2 separate regions of the Homo sapiens genome follow, and region 1 is linked to region 2. The links are contacts of gene promoters, found by promoter capture Hi-C in blood cells and fetal thymus (Javierre and others, 2016). All regions are on one chromosome and are shown on one strand. Each heading gives the region's core, a stretch centred on a gene start or on the middle of the fragment in contact. The rest is flanking DNA. Distances are from core to core; before and after follow the strand shown.

Region 1 (6,812 bases), core at 1,883-4,382, 310 kb after region 2:
GCTTGGCTACTTGGGATTAGAGAGGTACCTGGGGGACCAGATGCTTCCTAAATTGAACTTGAACCAACCAAATCTACTATTCAGTCCCATATTCATCCAAATTCTTAAGGTACCTGGTGCTGCAAAGTCTTAAGTCTCTTGGGGGATTCTGCAGTGTAAAGTAGGTTGCTTCTTGTTTTTCCCCACCACTGGCTTAATATTTAACTTTCTCAGGTCTTCTAAGTCAGTTCACACCACCCCACCTGCTTTCCAAAGGTGTGTTGCTGTTATCTCCTCTCTTGTTCCCAATCTTTGGAATTTCATGTCTGTGACCTCCAGTGATCCCTCCCTCCTGGCATTCACACCTTTTGAAATGCCCTCCTCTCGATTGTGGCCAGGGCCTGTGACTTGGTTCTAACCTGTGAAATATGGCAAAAGTTATGGGTTGTCACTCTCCTAATTATCTTACATTAAACAAGACTCTCTCTTAAAAGCAGACTGGAGTTAGAGACTGTCCTTGCAGGCTTAATGTTGTAAGTGGCCAAGTTGGAAAAGCCCATGTGGTGAAAAAAATAGGGGTGGCCTCTAGGGTCTGAGGATGAACTCTAGCCAATAGTCAGCAAAAAGCCACCATTCTCATTCCCACAACCACAAGGGGACAAATTCTGCCAACAACCTGAATGAGTCAGAAGTGAATTCTTCCCCACCTGCACCTCCAGATGACATGACAGTCCATCCAGTACCTTGATGACAGCCTTGTGTAACCCTGAGCAAAGTACAAGCTTAGCTGTGCATGGAATCCACCCATGACCACTTTGAGATAATAAATGTGTGTTGCTTTAAGCTGCTGAGTTTGCAGCAATTTTATATGCAGCAATAAAAAACTATCATAACAGAAATGGAATAAACTATTATAATAGAAAACACAGCAATAGAAAATTATTACAATGCTATTCACTTTTTCATTATTTTATTGTTGTTTTAGTAGCATTTTGAGGTGAATGTATGCATAATCAGTGAATTAGACAAGCATGCACATACATGATATCTGATCAAACATTTTTTTGTCTCTCATCATCCTCATAAAATTTATTCAGTGGGAGAAGCTTTTTCTTCCATCAGATACATTCCAGTTGTATGCCAACATACTCAGGTAAGAGCAACATTTTGGTCATTTTAAATAGTTTGGTAATTATGACTCCCAGTCGCCTACAATAAGAAGAAACTACAATAATTTAGTACTAAATTTTTCTTCCCTCTCCAACTGAGTCTTGTGTTGAGTTGCCTACTTGCGCTAGCACATCTTCCCTTGCTGGTTGACATTTTTGCTAAGATTTCTCCCTCTCCTTCCACCCCACCTTGGACACGGAGGTTTCTGGCCTCCCTTTCCCCAAGGTCCCCAAAAAAAGAAATCTGTCTTATGAGATAGGGCTGCCTTCACATGGTGTCAGGGTTCTCTGGATAGTAATTGTGTGTAATAAGAGAGGGAGCATTCAAGAACTCCCATAGAAATTCTCATAGCCCTGACTTCTCATCTTTAGCTTGTGTAGATTTTTTTGTATTCCAGGTGGTCATTTGTGACTCCTTCCTCATCCCACAATCTGGCTTCACCTCCCACTTCTTGATGCTGGGTTCCCTCCACCTCTTTGGACAACCCTATCAGAGAGGACCTAAAAGAGCCCCATGCTGACCTTCACTCTTGCATGTCTCACTATGGTTCATGGGAAACACACACATCCATTGCCCTGACAAACACTAGACATACAGGCTATTCTCAACACAGAACTCATTCAGGGCTCTACTACCGGAGCTGTGGCCACAATTCTAGGCAAGAATCAGACTTCCATCAGCCATGCATCCTAATTGTTGTGGTTCTGAGAAATCTGAGCTATCTGAGCTATCTGAGAAATCTTCTCTCACTAAATTTGAGGTCAAGGAGCAGACATTCCTCCTTCTCTCACTTTTGTGGGTAGGTAGAGTGAGAAGGCTCATAGAGCAGTTTTCTGCAAAGAAGTCTTTCTCATAAAATTCTGTTGACTCTCATACATATTTGTGGGGTATAGAACCATCTAACTGATCCTCAGTCATTTCCTTTGAACCTCTCACTTTCATATTTCATGTGTGCTGCACCTTGGTGCCTTGTGGAAGTCTAACTTTGAATTTCTCTCAGGTATGCTTATTTAATCTACCACCACTAACTAGAAGTTCCCCCAGCTGTCTTTATTTGCATAGCATGAAGGCTTTCCATGTCAGGAGGCTAAGAGACACTCCCTAGGCCTCTCAAAACAGCAAGGATGAATCAAAGGCTCGGGTTCCTCTGGGCACTATGGTCACGGCTGAAACTCAGGTAGGTGAGCCAAATGTGATGGAAGTATGGAAGAGAAGTGTTGCTTCACATAGCGTCAACTCCTGCTGCTTTGTATGTCATCCAAAAGTGGCACTGGCTGTACAAGAAAATAACTTCCACAAAGTGCCTATGGTGTATTATGAAAGAAAATAAGGATGTTTTAAGGTACCTCCCTGGAAGCTGACAACCAAATTCTCCCTTAATTTCTCTCTTACATAGAATTCTGGGAATGGTGAACTGTGTAACTGACCTCAGAAAGATTTACTAGAGATGTAGGTAATTTTCAAGGCTTTTATTGGCTGTAGAAATGGTCTGGGAGACAAATGTCCTAAAAATCCCCAATTTCCCTTAACTGGCTTCACAATCTTTGGCAAGTCACTTTACCTCTCTGAGCCCCCATGCCCTCATCTCTGCACTAGGTCTGCCTTGACACTTTTGTTTGCAGGGTTTAGGACCAGATGGAAGTGCCTTGTAAACTGAAAAATACCACATTATATATCATATCACATTATTATACTTTCTGATAAATGGTTACAAAGCTATCTGAAATAGAAGTTTACATTTTATTTCTGATTAACTTTCAATATTAAGTGATAGAACCTAAGAAGCAAAAGCGAACATAAAATTCAACTGGAAAATTTGAAAGAGAAATGGTTTTTTCTCTAGGAAATTTGCACTAATAACTTTTTCCCACCATCCCCCCACCAGTAACTTTTTGACAAGAAAATGAACGTGGCCTATTAATTTATCTAAAGCTATTTCATAAAATTTTCTTCCTTCAATCCAGATTATTGGAAATGCCATGTGAATAATGCTGTTTTATGAAAATAGAAACCATATTTTATGGTCAGGGTACAACTGACACGATTTCCAACAAAACCTACTCTTCTGCATTTATGGAGCACTTTCTTTGAATCAAATCACATGGAAATAAATCTTCTTTTCATTTAATTGAAGACAAAAGGGAGCAGTAATGAAGCCACTGAGACATTCTTGTTTTATTCCCAGACCCCTAAATCAGAAAACCCGATCGAATACTGAGCATAATTTCTTCATTGACATTTGTCTCTAAATGTCAAGTTGTTCTGGAAATTTTTTCTTGATTTTATGATTCCTTGCCTTATTCATTTGAGACAAACTGAGTTAGCATGATGTTGTCGGAGGAATCTCCAGTATGAGAAAATGCATAATGGCCTGAAGGGGAAAAAAAAAGGAAATAATTATTGTTACTCTGTTGAAATCAAGCATGAGACCAAAATGAAAATTAGCCTGTAGATTATTTCACAACTAGGAACAGTTTTTAAAAGATTCTAGGTAAAGACAAAAAGACTGTGGTTGGTGGAGAGAAATAGCATTTCACCAACACCCCAGAGGCTTGCATTTGTCAAGTATCACTTATTTGAGAAATATCATGTTTTTCAAATATTGCTGGGAAATGACATAAAGTAGATTGAGATCACAATATGTTATTGCTGGAAGAATCTTAGTAATCTCTTAGCTTTTTATTTTATAGATGAGGAACAAATGTCCCCAAAAGGTAGAGACTTGTAAAAAAGCGCTCAAGCTGACTGGTGGCAATAACAACAGAACCCAAGGGTCCGGGACAAGCACATTCTCCAGACACTTGAACTTTATCTGGAATTTGAATAATTTCAATGGGAATATAAAATGAGTTTCCTACATTAATGATGACATTAACATAACTGAATGTGAAATGGGACTTTAACTCTTAAGCATGGTTTCAACTTAGCTTGTAAGGCAATGTCTCCTCCTCCACTTCCATGTTCCAACCTTCTCTCTCCTCCAAGAATGCTGTGGCTACTTGCAATGTTTAAACACTGGTCTTGCAGTTGCTCAATAGCACAGACTTTAGTAACCGCCAATCAATGAACATAGGGCCAGTGCATGTCACAGGTGGAGGAGACAGTGCTCTTTCACTCTTAGCAGGTGTGGCCCCTTCCTGCCCAGGGGCATTTTAGGGAGGAGGACATGTGCAACATCAGGGCACAAGCACCTGGCCGCGTGCCCACTGCTTGGCAGCTGGCACAAAGGGGTGATTCTCCAATAAGGACATAAATCGTGTTAGTCTAACCACACTCCTTCCCTTCAAGGCCTCAATGATCAATGCCACAGATTTATCTAATGTCAAACTTGGGAAATAGAGATAATTTGTGATGACATTACATAAAGACACTCTCTGGTTCTCCATGAGCATCAAGTCACCTACATTGTTCTGTCAGCCCTGAGCACGGTCTGGATGAACTCTGAAAACATGGCTGGCTGATAATCCCACACTTCTCACATGAGTTTCTTACATGTTGCCATTGAATTTTATTCATATGATATACTCATATACTCTTTTCACACCTTTTATAACCTTTGGTTTTATTGTAACTCACCTTTGTTTTGCAGTGGGTTGAAAGGCTTTGAGAATTTGGGTTTGGCAGATAAATCTGATGAGTTTTGCTGCACAAAATAAAAATAAGTCATTTGGACATTAATAGCATTCTTTTACTGTTGGTCTGCATTTCCTGACTTCCTGATGTTATTCATGATTCTTTATTTCATTTTCATAGGTGCTATTCTCTTTTTAAGAATTTAGAATGGTTACTTTCTCACTCTTTCTTCTGCTTTAATCTATTTAAAATGCCTAAAAATTTATTTTCAAGTGAATGCTGTGTTCCTGTGTATTTTTATAACTTCTAACAACAAACTAGAAAACAGTTTTAAAGGCGGCATTATCCCTTTTCATGTCTATGCTTACATTTCTTTGGATCACATTTGTTACTGGAAGAGAAACCCATGGAGGAAAATGGAGGAAAAACAGTGCTCTGACTAAAAATGATTCTCAACAAAGCTTTGCTTTACTCTTGCTCATCTTAGCTCTCAAACCTACTTTTGAATGACGCTTTGGTCATTGCTACAGAGGCTATATAGAGTTCAATAATTTAACAGCTGAATTATAAAATTAAATAAAATATTTGAAACAAAGAGCATGTACTTATCAGGAAAGATAAATGTGTTTACATACATTATATATTTTTCTACTCATTAGTTCATCATTCATTTGTCCATTAATTTACCATCTCATATTGAATGCCTTTGTGTGCCAGATGCTGTTCTGGCACTGGGAATATTGGAAGGAAAACTTCCATTCCTTGCTACAGTCTATGCCACAAGGAAACCAAACCAAGGTGGGAAAAACATGTTCTTATTATATTCAGTAGATAGACCAGTGATAGTTTTTCAATTTTCACTGGTATTAAGGCACACTGAGTTCTGAAAAAAAAAAGCTACAAAAATAAGAATTAAAAATATTTGAAACTTTCAAAGCAAAATAATTAATTTTCTAGAATTCAGGGCTCAGCAAACATTTAATGCTATAAACCTTTAAAAAAATCATAAGGTCAGGGATCATGGCACTTAAAATTGCATCCTGTACCATTTGGAGATAGGAATTTTAGGTTGTAACATACTCAATATACTTCCTTGTGGTCTGGGAAGAAGTAGCCTCTTCAGGTGTGTGAAGTTATATGGGTCGAAACACTTAGCCAAATAACAGGCCGTGAGTTACTGGAACTCAGATGTAGGTCTGTAAATCTATTCTTTGTGGAGGGGGGTCCATTGAGGCCACCAGAGTCTGTGACTTGGAGAAGAGTTACAGAGAACATGCCTAGGGACAATGGAGGGTCAAGACAGGGGCCTGAGCATGGAGAAGATTTGGGGTCCATACAGTGTGCTGTGGCTTGAAGGATGGTCCTTGCTGAGACTATTGCTGGCTCTTCTTTCATTCCCTTCAGTCAACTATCATAGTCTCACTGCTCTGTTCAGGATCCCTACTTTACTCCTCCTTTAGCTATCTCTCAGAGGATAGCCTTGTCCATTACTTAAGAAAAACAAACAAAAAAAGTATCAAGGTTCGAACTCTCTATATCATGACACTGTAAACAAAAATAAAATTCTAAGCCCCCCAACCAACTGAATGGATCCCCCCTCTCAGCCAAGGAGATTTCAAAGAAACCTGAAAAACTAGTTGAGGTTATGATGGGAAGTGGGGGTCAGACATGCTTCATTGTAGTCTTCTCCCTTTGGAGCTCAGACACAAAACTGAGATCTTAAGACTGATAGAACAAATCTTTTGTAGCAATAAGATACCAAATTCCAACCAAACTCTAGCATAGCATCATGCAACAGATAGGTCCTGAAAGAAATCAAAGTATTTTACCACAAAATATATTTCTTTGACATATTTTGAAATGGCCCTGCAAAGCTGTCTCTTGTGGAAGAAATTTATATTCTGTAGAAAATTCCCTTCCCTTTCTAGATCTTTTTCTGATCCTGAAGAGATTAGCTGAGAGTCTATATCCTTTAAAAGGTCTGAATAGAAAACATTTGCATCTCTTGCATCAAAGGGCTTCAGGTACATAAAAAGAACCTTGGTCTACACAACCCCTTAGCTTAACCCAGAAACTCCTTTCTATTGATT
Region 2 (6,878 bases), core at 3,724-6,223:
TACCTACAAAGCAATTCTAATAAAACCCCAGCAGCCTTCAAATTTTTTTGCAGAAGTTGACAAGTATATTCTAAAATACATATAGAAAATCAAAAACAATTTTGAGGGAAAAGAACAAAGAGGATTCATATTACTTAATTTTAAAATTGGCTTTTAAGCAGTTTAGAAAACAATCAAAACAAAGGGGTATTGGCACAAAGACAGATATATAGATTGATGGAACAGAATAAAGGGTCAAAGAATAAACTCACATACATATGGTCAATTAATTTTTGGCAAAAGCACCAAGATAACTTAACTGGAAAGTATAGTCTTTGCAACAAATGGCAGTATAACAATTGGATATCCATATATAAAAATAAAATCCTCAACCCTTACCTCACTACAAAAAGTTAATTTAAAATGAATCATAGACCTAAATACAAGAGCCAAAATTATAAAACTTCTAAACAAAAACATTGAAAGTTTGTTTTGTGGGTTTTTGTTTTGTTTTTTTACCTTGGGTTAGTAAAAGATTTAGTGGAACAATAACAACAAAATAAACTACCATTTAGAAAAGAAAAATATGTGAATAATTTGATTTCATCAAAATTACAAATTTTCTTCAAAAGACACTATTTAAGGGAATAAAACTGTAAACATTTGTCAAAATATCAAACTACAATATGAAAGTGTGAGTTTTACTGTACAAAAATTATGCCTAAATAGACCAAATTTTTAAAAAACCTAATTTAAGATTTTTAATCTTTAAGAATCCTAGGAGAGAACATATTTTTTAAGTTTTAATTTCATTCATATCACTAATAACTACAACTTATTACATGTTTCCTGTGGTGGGTCTTTTACCCATATTGGCTCATTTCGTCTTCATATTTAAGTATAGTTCCATTTTTATAGATGAAGAGAACCTAACTCTGAAAATTTTATTATCCATGTCACCCTGAGATGATAAACATGGACTTTCAAAATCTAAAGCCCTTCCTTTCCCACTATGTTTTGCTGCATCTCAAGTATTTATTTAATGCAAACATGTTAACTGTATTTACATTAATTCATGCAGTCCTTGGAACCAAAGTGTAAGGTGTATGCCGTTATATCCATTTTCAGATATGGAAACAGAGGGTAAATTATTTGCCTGGGTCACATGGCTCTTACAAATGGAGGCCAATCCTGCTGTAATTCAAAAGACTATGCTCTCTCTACTCTCATTGCCCCCTATAATGATCTGGTCTTGAATTGTCTGTGTGTGTATTCTAATAAAATTGTATTTTGTGACACTGAAATCTTAAATTTTTAAAAGCTTTTTATTTTGAAATAATTTTAGATTTTCATAAAGTTTCCAAAGAAAAACGTATAGGGATATACCATGACTGTTGTACACAATCAAAACCAGGAGCAAATTGACATTGGTACAATCCACAGATTCCAAAGTCACTAATTTATAAGCACACATTTGTGTGTGTGTGTGTGTGTGTGTGTGTGTCATTCCATGCAATTTCATCACCTTTGTGTAGCTTTGATAACTATCACTGCACACAAGATACAGAACAGTTCATCAGTCCATGCCTGATGCTATCCCTTTATAGGCATTTTCAACCCTTTTCTTCCCCATCCCTAACTCCTGGAAGCCACTAATCTTTTCTCCATCTCTATAATTTTATTAATCTAAGAATATTATGTAAATAGAATGCAGTATGTAACCTTTTACTATTTTTTTTTCACTCAGTAAAATTCTACGGAGAACCTTCCTAAGTTGTTGCTCACATCAATAATTCATTTTCCTTGTTATTGCTGTGTAGGACCCTTTGGTATTGATGTACCACAGTTTGTTTAACCATTTACCCATCGAAGGGCATTTAGGTTGTTTCCAGTTTTGGGTTCCAGGTTTTTGCATGAGCATGTTTCCTTTCTTTGGGATAAATGCCTAAATGCAATTTTTCAGTCATATGGCAAGTACATAGTTTTTAAAATGTGGCTGTACCATTTTACATTCTTACCAGCAACATAAGTGATGCAGTTTATTCACATTCTTGCCAGTACTGGTGTTATCACGATTTTTTAGCTTAGTCATTACCATGGCATGTGGTGATATAACATTGTGGGTTTTTTTTTTTTTTTGTCTAATAGCTAATGATGTTGAAAATCTTTTCATATTCTTCTTTGTCATCTGTACATCCTCCTCCGTGAAATGCCACTTCATATCTTTTGCCTATTTTCAAATTTATTTTTTTTACTATTGAGTTTCGAGAGTCGTTTATCTATTATAGATACAAGTCCTATGTCAGACGTGTGGTTTGCAAATATTTTCTCCCTGTCTGTAGCTTGTCTTTTTCATTCTCCTAACAGGGTATTTCTTACTTGAACTGTTTTCTAAAAATATCCAGTAAATGTTAATTTTTCTAAGCAACTTTAAACAAAGTCAATTAGTAGTATAGAAACTATAGACTGTAAAGTATACTGCATTTCTGCTTAGAGTTCTCTATACACAGAGGCCTAAGACAGCACAAAATAAGTATGATTTATTTAGCCCAATTTTCCTGCATCGTTTCCATAAAAAATATTGAAGTGGCTCATAATATTAGTATTCAAACACCTGTCATACACATTCCATCCCTGGCCTTAACCTTTCCCCCTTTATCCCTTACGTATTTGTATTAGGATAAGAATATCCTCTCTCCCAAACTTCACATACCGGGGCCTGTCAAGGGGTGGAAGGATAGGGGAGGGATAGCATTAGGAGAAATACCTAATGTAGATGATGGGTTGATGGGTGCAGCAAACCACCATGGCATGTGTATACCTATGTAACAAATCTGCACGTTCTGTACATAATGTCCCAGAACTTAAAGTACAATAATAATAAAAAAAAAATCCCCTCTCCCTTCTTTTCCGAAACCAAGGGCCTCTCAAGACTAATGGGAGGAAAGTTTATTTATTATAAAACTCAAGATATTTTGTTTAATATAGTATGGGAGATATATGAGGGGAGCTTAATCTTAACAGTGCAATGACCTGATTTTTAAAATTAACCCGAGTCCCTGTCCAACAGCAGAGCATGACAGAACAAACTAATGCTACCTGCTCCAGATACAGAAAAGGTAGGACATTGGAAAATCTGGGTGGATGGGGGTAAAGGATTCAGATCAGCCCATAACGGCCACGTGATATACCCTGACGTCCTAGGATTAAGGCCATGAGCCATGGAAGGAGGTTGGAGGACAAATGAAATACAGAAAGTCATAATATCTACAACCCTGTGGTCTACAAAGGAGTTTGGTTATACTACATGAACCTGAAATAGATGATGGATTAAAGTCTCCATTATTCCATGTAATGATAAAACAATTTCAAGTGATCATAAGACCATTTTATAATGAATTCCTTCTTTCCACTGTAAAGGCCATAGTGTTAGATTGCTTACTCTTGTTAAGATTTACTGGATGCTAACAGTCCAGCACTGGCTAGGCATCGAGAACATAAAAATAAATGAGAAGTGTTCCTGCTTTTAAGATGTTCCTACTGTGGCAAACAGAGAGCTACAAAATATAATAATATAGAAGTATGTAAAAAAAAAAAAAAAAAGGAATAACCAATTCTGCCAGGTTGAATAGTAGGGTCACGAGGAAACGACGTTTGAGCTAGGTCTTGCTAGATGTTTTTAAATAAAATGTTTTTCTTCCATAATGAATATGAAACAATTAGAAAAAAAATGGGAAAATTGAGTTTTCAAGGATGAGTTCTTCAGGAAAAGAAAAGCTTTGGCTTTTAGAGAAATTGGATTCATTCATTCATTCATTCATATTCATTTAGCAAATATTCATTGCCTTCACTCCAAGCTAGATTCCGAGAATCCAACAAACGGTACTTGCCAAAGGGAACCTGTCGGCTGGTGGGATGATAGAGATCAGACAGTTGCCACACAATGTGAAAAGTGCCGTGAAAAAGTAAGCATAGGGTGATGTGGAAGCACATGGTTGCCTCTAATCTGGACAGACTGAAGACACTGAGATTTACAGTTAGGCCAGGGTCATTTGAAGCACTGCCTTGTTGTATTTGTATGTAATGACATTTCGAAACGTGGAATGAAAGGAAAAGTACAGGCAGACTATAAGAAGCTTCCACGGATGTGTCTAACTTTGCAAATGAACAAAAATCTAATGTAGACATATCCTGGAAACTTCTAGTTTGCCTGCACTTTTCCATTCCAAATGGAGGTTTGGACATTTAACAGAGGCCTCAAAGGGTTATCCTGTTAAGATTTTAGTATATACAGCAGGGGCTTGAAGGAATGTTGATTCCATTCCTCTTGGCCTCCTTTTATGAATCCAGTTCTGTGCTAGCTCTGTGAGTAAATGAAAATGCCTTCAAAATTGGGATGCCAGAGTTAGACAGCAAAGGAGCAAAGGAACCCGTATCAGCTAAGTGTGGGAAGGGAAATATGTACCAGTTGCTATATACTTTCACACGTTATTTTAACCTCATAACAACTCTTATCAATTCAGATGATGGAACAGGGTTAAAGAATAGAGGCTGAGCACCTGGCTGTCCACGGACACACTGAGCCAGCAGGAGCACCCGTGCCCCGCAGCAGCACCCAGGGCCCTCCTAGAGTTCCGGCCTTAACGCCTAGGAACGTGCCATTGGCTCCTGCGTTTCTCGTTCCCGTCGGGAACGCCACTGGCTAGTACCTTGCCTGGCCCCCAGTGCTCAATCCCTGGTAGTTGGGAGGACGAAAAGGAAATCCCTCTCTGGTCGGTCCTCACCGCAGCCCTGTGTCAGGCCGTCACACGGCGGCCTCCAGAGTCGAAGGCGCTCTGAGGAGATGCAGGTTGTGTCCAAAACCTCCCACCTCGGGGTCTCCTGAACGTCCCAACAAGCTCCTTGGGCCCTTAGGCGTTAGGCCAACCCCAGGCCTCGGCTGGCCCCGCCCACTCTCCGCGGCCGGAAGTGGCGGCGCCGAGTGAGGTAAATGCGTGCCCGGAAGCGCGACCTCGGGCGGTTGGAGGGGCTACCGGGTCTTACCAGTCCGTGGCGGGAGTCCCGGAGGACCCTCGACGGGGGAGTTGCCGAGAAAAGGCCTCGCCGGCATTCTTCCCCTCCACTGGGTCCTTTGAACCTAGTTTGGCTGGGACTCGCCTTCAGGCGGCGCGGAGGATTTCGAGGCCCTGAGGCGCGGCCCTTAATTTCCGGAAGTGGGGGCCGCGCCGCGCCGTCAAGATGTGCTCGACGCCCGGAATGCCGGCGCCGGGGGCCTCGCTGGCCCTGCGGGTGTCCTTCGTGGACGTGCATCCCGATGTGATCCCGGTGCAGCTGTGGGGGCTGGTGGGCGAGCGGCGGGGCGAGTACCTGCGGCTGAGCCGGGAAATCCAGGAAGCGGCGGCCACGCGCGGCCAGTGGGCGCTGGGCAGCGCCTCGGCCTCGCCCGGCGAGCTGTGCCTGGTGCAGGTCGGGCTTTTGTGGCACCGCTGCCGCGTGGTCAGCCGGCAGGCACAGGAGAGCCGTGTCTTCCTGCTGGACGAGGGCCGCACCATCACGGCCGGAGCAGGCTCGCTGGCGCCTGGGCGCAGAGAGTTCTTCAATTTGCCCTCGGAAGTGCTGGGCTGCGTGCTAGCGGGCCTGGTGCCGGCAGGCTGCGGCGCGGGCTCAGGCGAGCCGCCGCAGCACTGGCCCGCCGACGCCGTGGACTTCCTTAGCAACCTTCAGGGCAAGGAGGTGCACGGGTGCGTCCTGGACGTGCTGCTGCTCCATCGCCTGGTCCTCCTGGAGGTGCCTGATGTGTTCCAACAGATGCGGGAGCTGGGCCTGGCTCGGCGGGTGCCCGACAGCCTCTTCCGTTCGCTGCTGGAGCGCTATCTCACAGCGGCCACTGCTAGCGTGGGCTCCGGGGTCCCGGTTCTCTCGCGAGTCCCGCTCAAGCAAAAGCAGCCTGGTCTGGATTACTTCTATCCCCAGCTGCAGCTGGGCGTGACGGAGGCCGTGGTCATAACCCAAGTGTGCCATCCCCACCGCATTCACTGCCAGCTCCGCAGCGTCTCGCAGGAGATCCACCGCCTCTCCGAGAGCATGGCCCAGGTATACCGGGGTTCCACGGGGACAGGGGATGAGAACTCTACCAGTGCCACCTGGGAGGAGAGGGAGGAGAGCCCAGATAAGCCGGGCTCTCCGTGTGCATCCTGTGGCCTGGATGGACATTGGTACAGAGCACTGTTGCTTGAGACTTTTCGGCCCCAGCGCTGTGCCCAGGTGCTTCATGTGGACTATGGAAGGAAGGAGTTAGTGAGTTGCAGCAGCCTTCGGTACTTGCTGCCTGAATATTTTCGAATGCCGGTGGTGACCTACCCTTGTGCTTTGTATGGACTCTGGGACGGTGGGAGAGGCTGGTCTCGGTCACAGGTCGGTGACCTGAAGACACTGATACTAGGCAAGGCAGTGAATGCAAAGATTGAATTTTATTGCTCCTTTGAGCATGTGTATTATGTCAGCCTGTATGGAGAAGATGGGATTAATCTGAACCGTGTGTTTGGAGTACAGTCGTGTTGCTTGGCTGACCGAGTCCTTCAGAGCCAGGCAACAGAGGAGGAGGAACCAGAAACATCTCAGTCTCAGTCTCCTGCTGAAGAAGTAGATGAAGAGATTTCACTCCCAGCCTTAAGATCTATCAGGTTAAAGATGAATGCCTTCTACGATGCGCAGGTAGAGTTTGTTAAAAATCCTTCTGAGTTTTGGATTAGGTTGAGGAAACACAATGTCACCTTCAGTAAGCTGATGAGGAGAATGTGTGGTTTCTATTCCTCTGCCAGTAAGCTGGATGGTGTAGTTTTGAAACCTGAACCTGATGACCTTTGCTGTGTCAAGTGGAAAGAAAATGGTTATTATAG

Evidence for each region. The method cuts DNA at HindIII sites, captures the fragments that hold promoters and counts their contacts. A CHiCAGO score of 5 or more calls a contact.
Region 1: a contact is called between a fragment that was not itself captured here and the fragment with the promoter of TDRD6 in region 2, in 1 of 17 cell types (M2 macrophages). The highest score is 5.9, in M2 macrophages.

The regions. Positions count from the first base shown.
Region 1 is chr6:46,996,776-47,003,587 of GRCh38, forward strand. It overlaps ADGRF1 (adhesion G protein-coupled receptor F1), which reads right to left. Exons shown (of 15, transcript NM_153840.4): 14 at 4,726-4,792; 15 at 933-3,520. The coding sequence ends at 3,447. Among named protein-coding and RNA genes, the nearest start is that of ADGRF1, 42 kb to the right of the region's middle. The HindIII fragment of the contact is 4,098 bases long and covers 1,084-5,181 here.
Region 2 is chr6:46,682,912-46,689,789 of GRCh38, forward strand. It overlaps TDRD6 (tudor domain containing 6), which reads left to right and starts at 4,974. Exons shown (of 4, transcript NM_001010870.3): 1 at 4,974-6,878. The coding sequence starts at 5,218. TDRD6-AS1 (TDRD6 and SLC25A27 antisense RNA 1) reads right to left here and starts at 5,254. Exons shown (of 2, transcript NR_134643.1): 1 at 5,023-5,254. The HindIII fragment of the contact is 3,266 bases long and covers 4,114-6,878 here.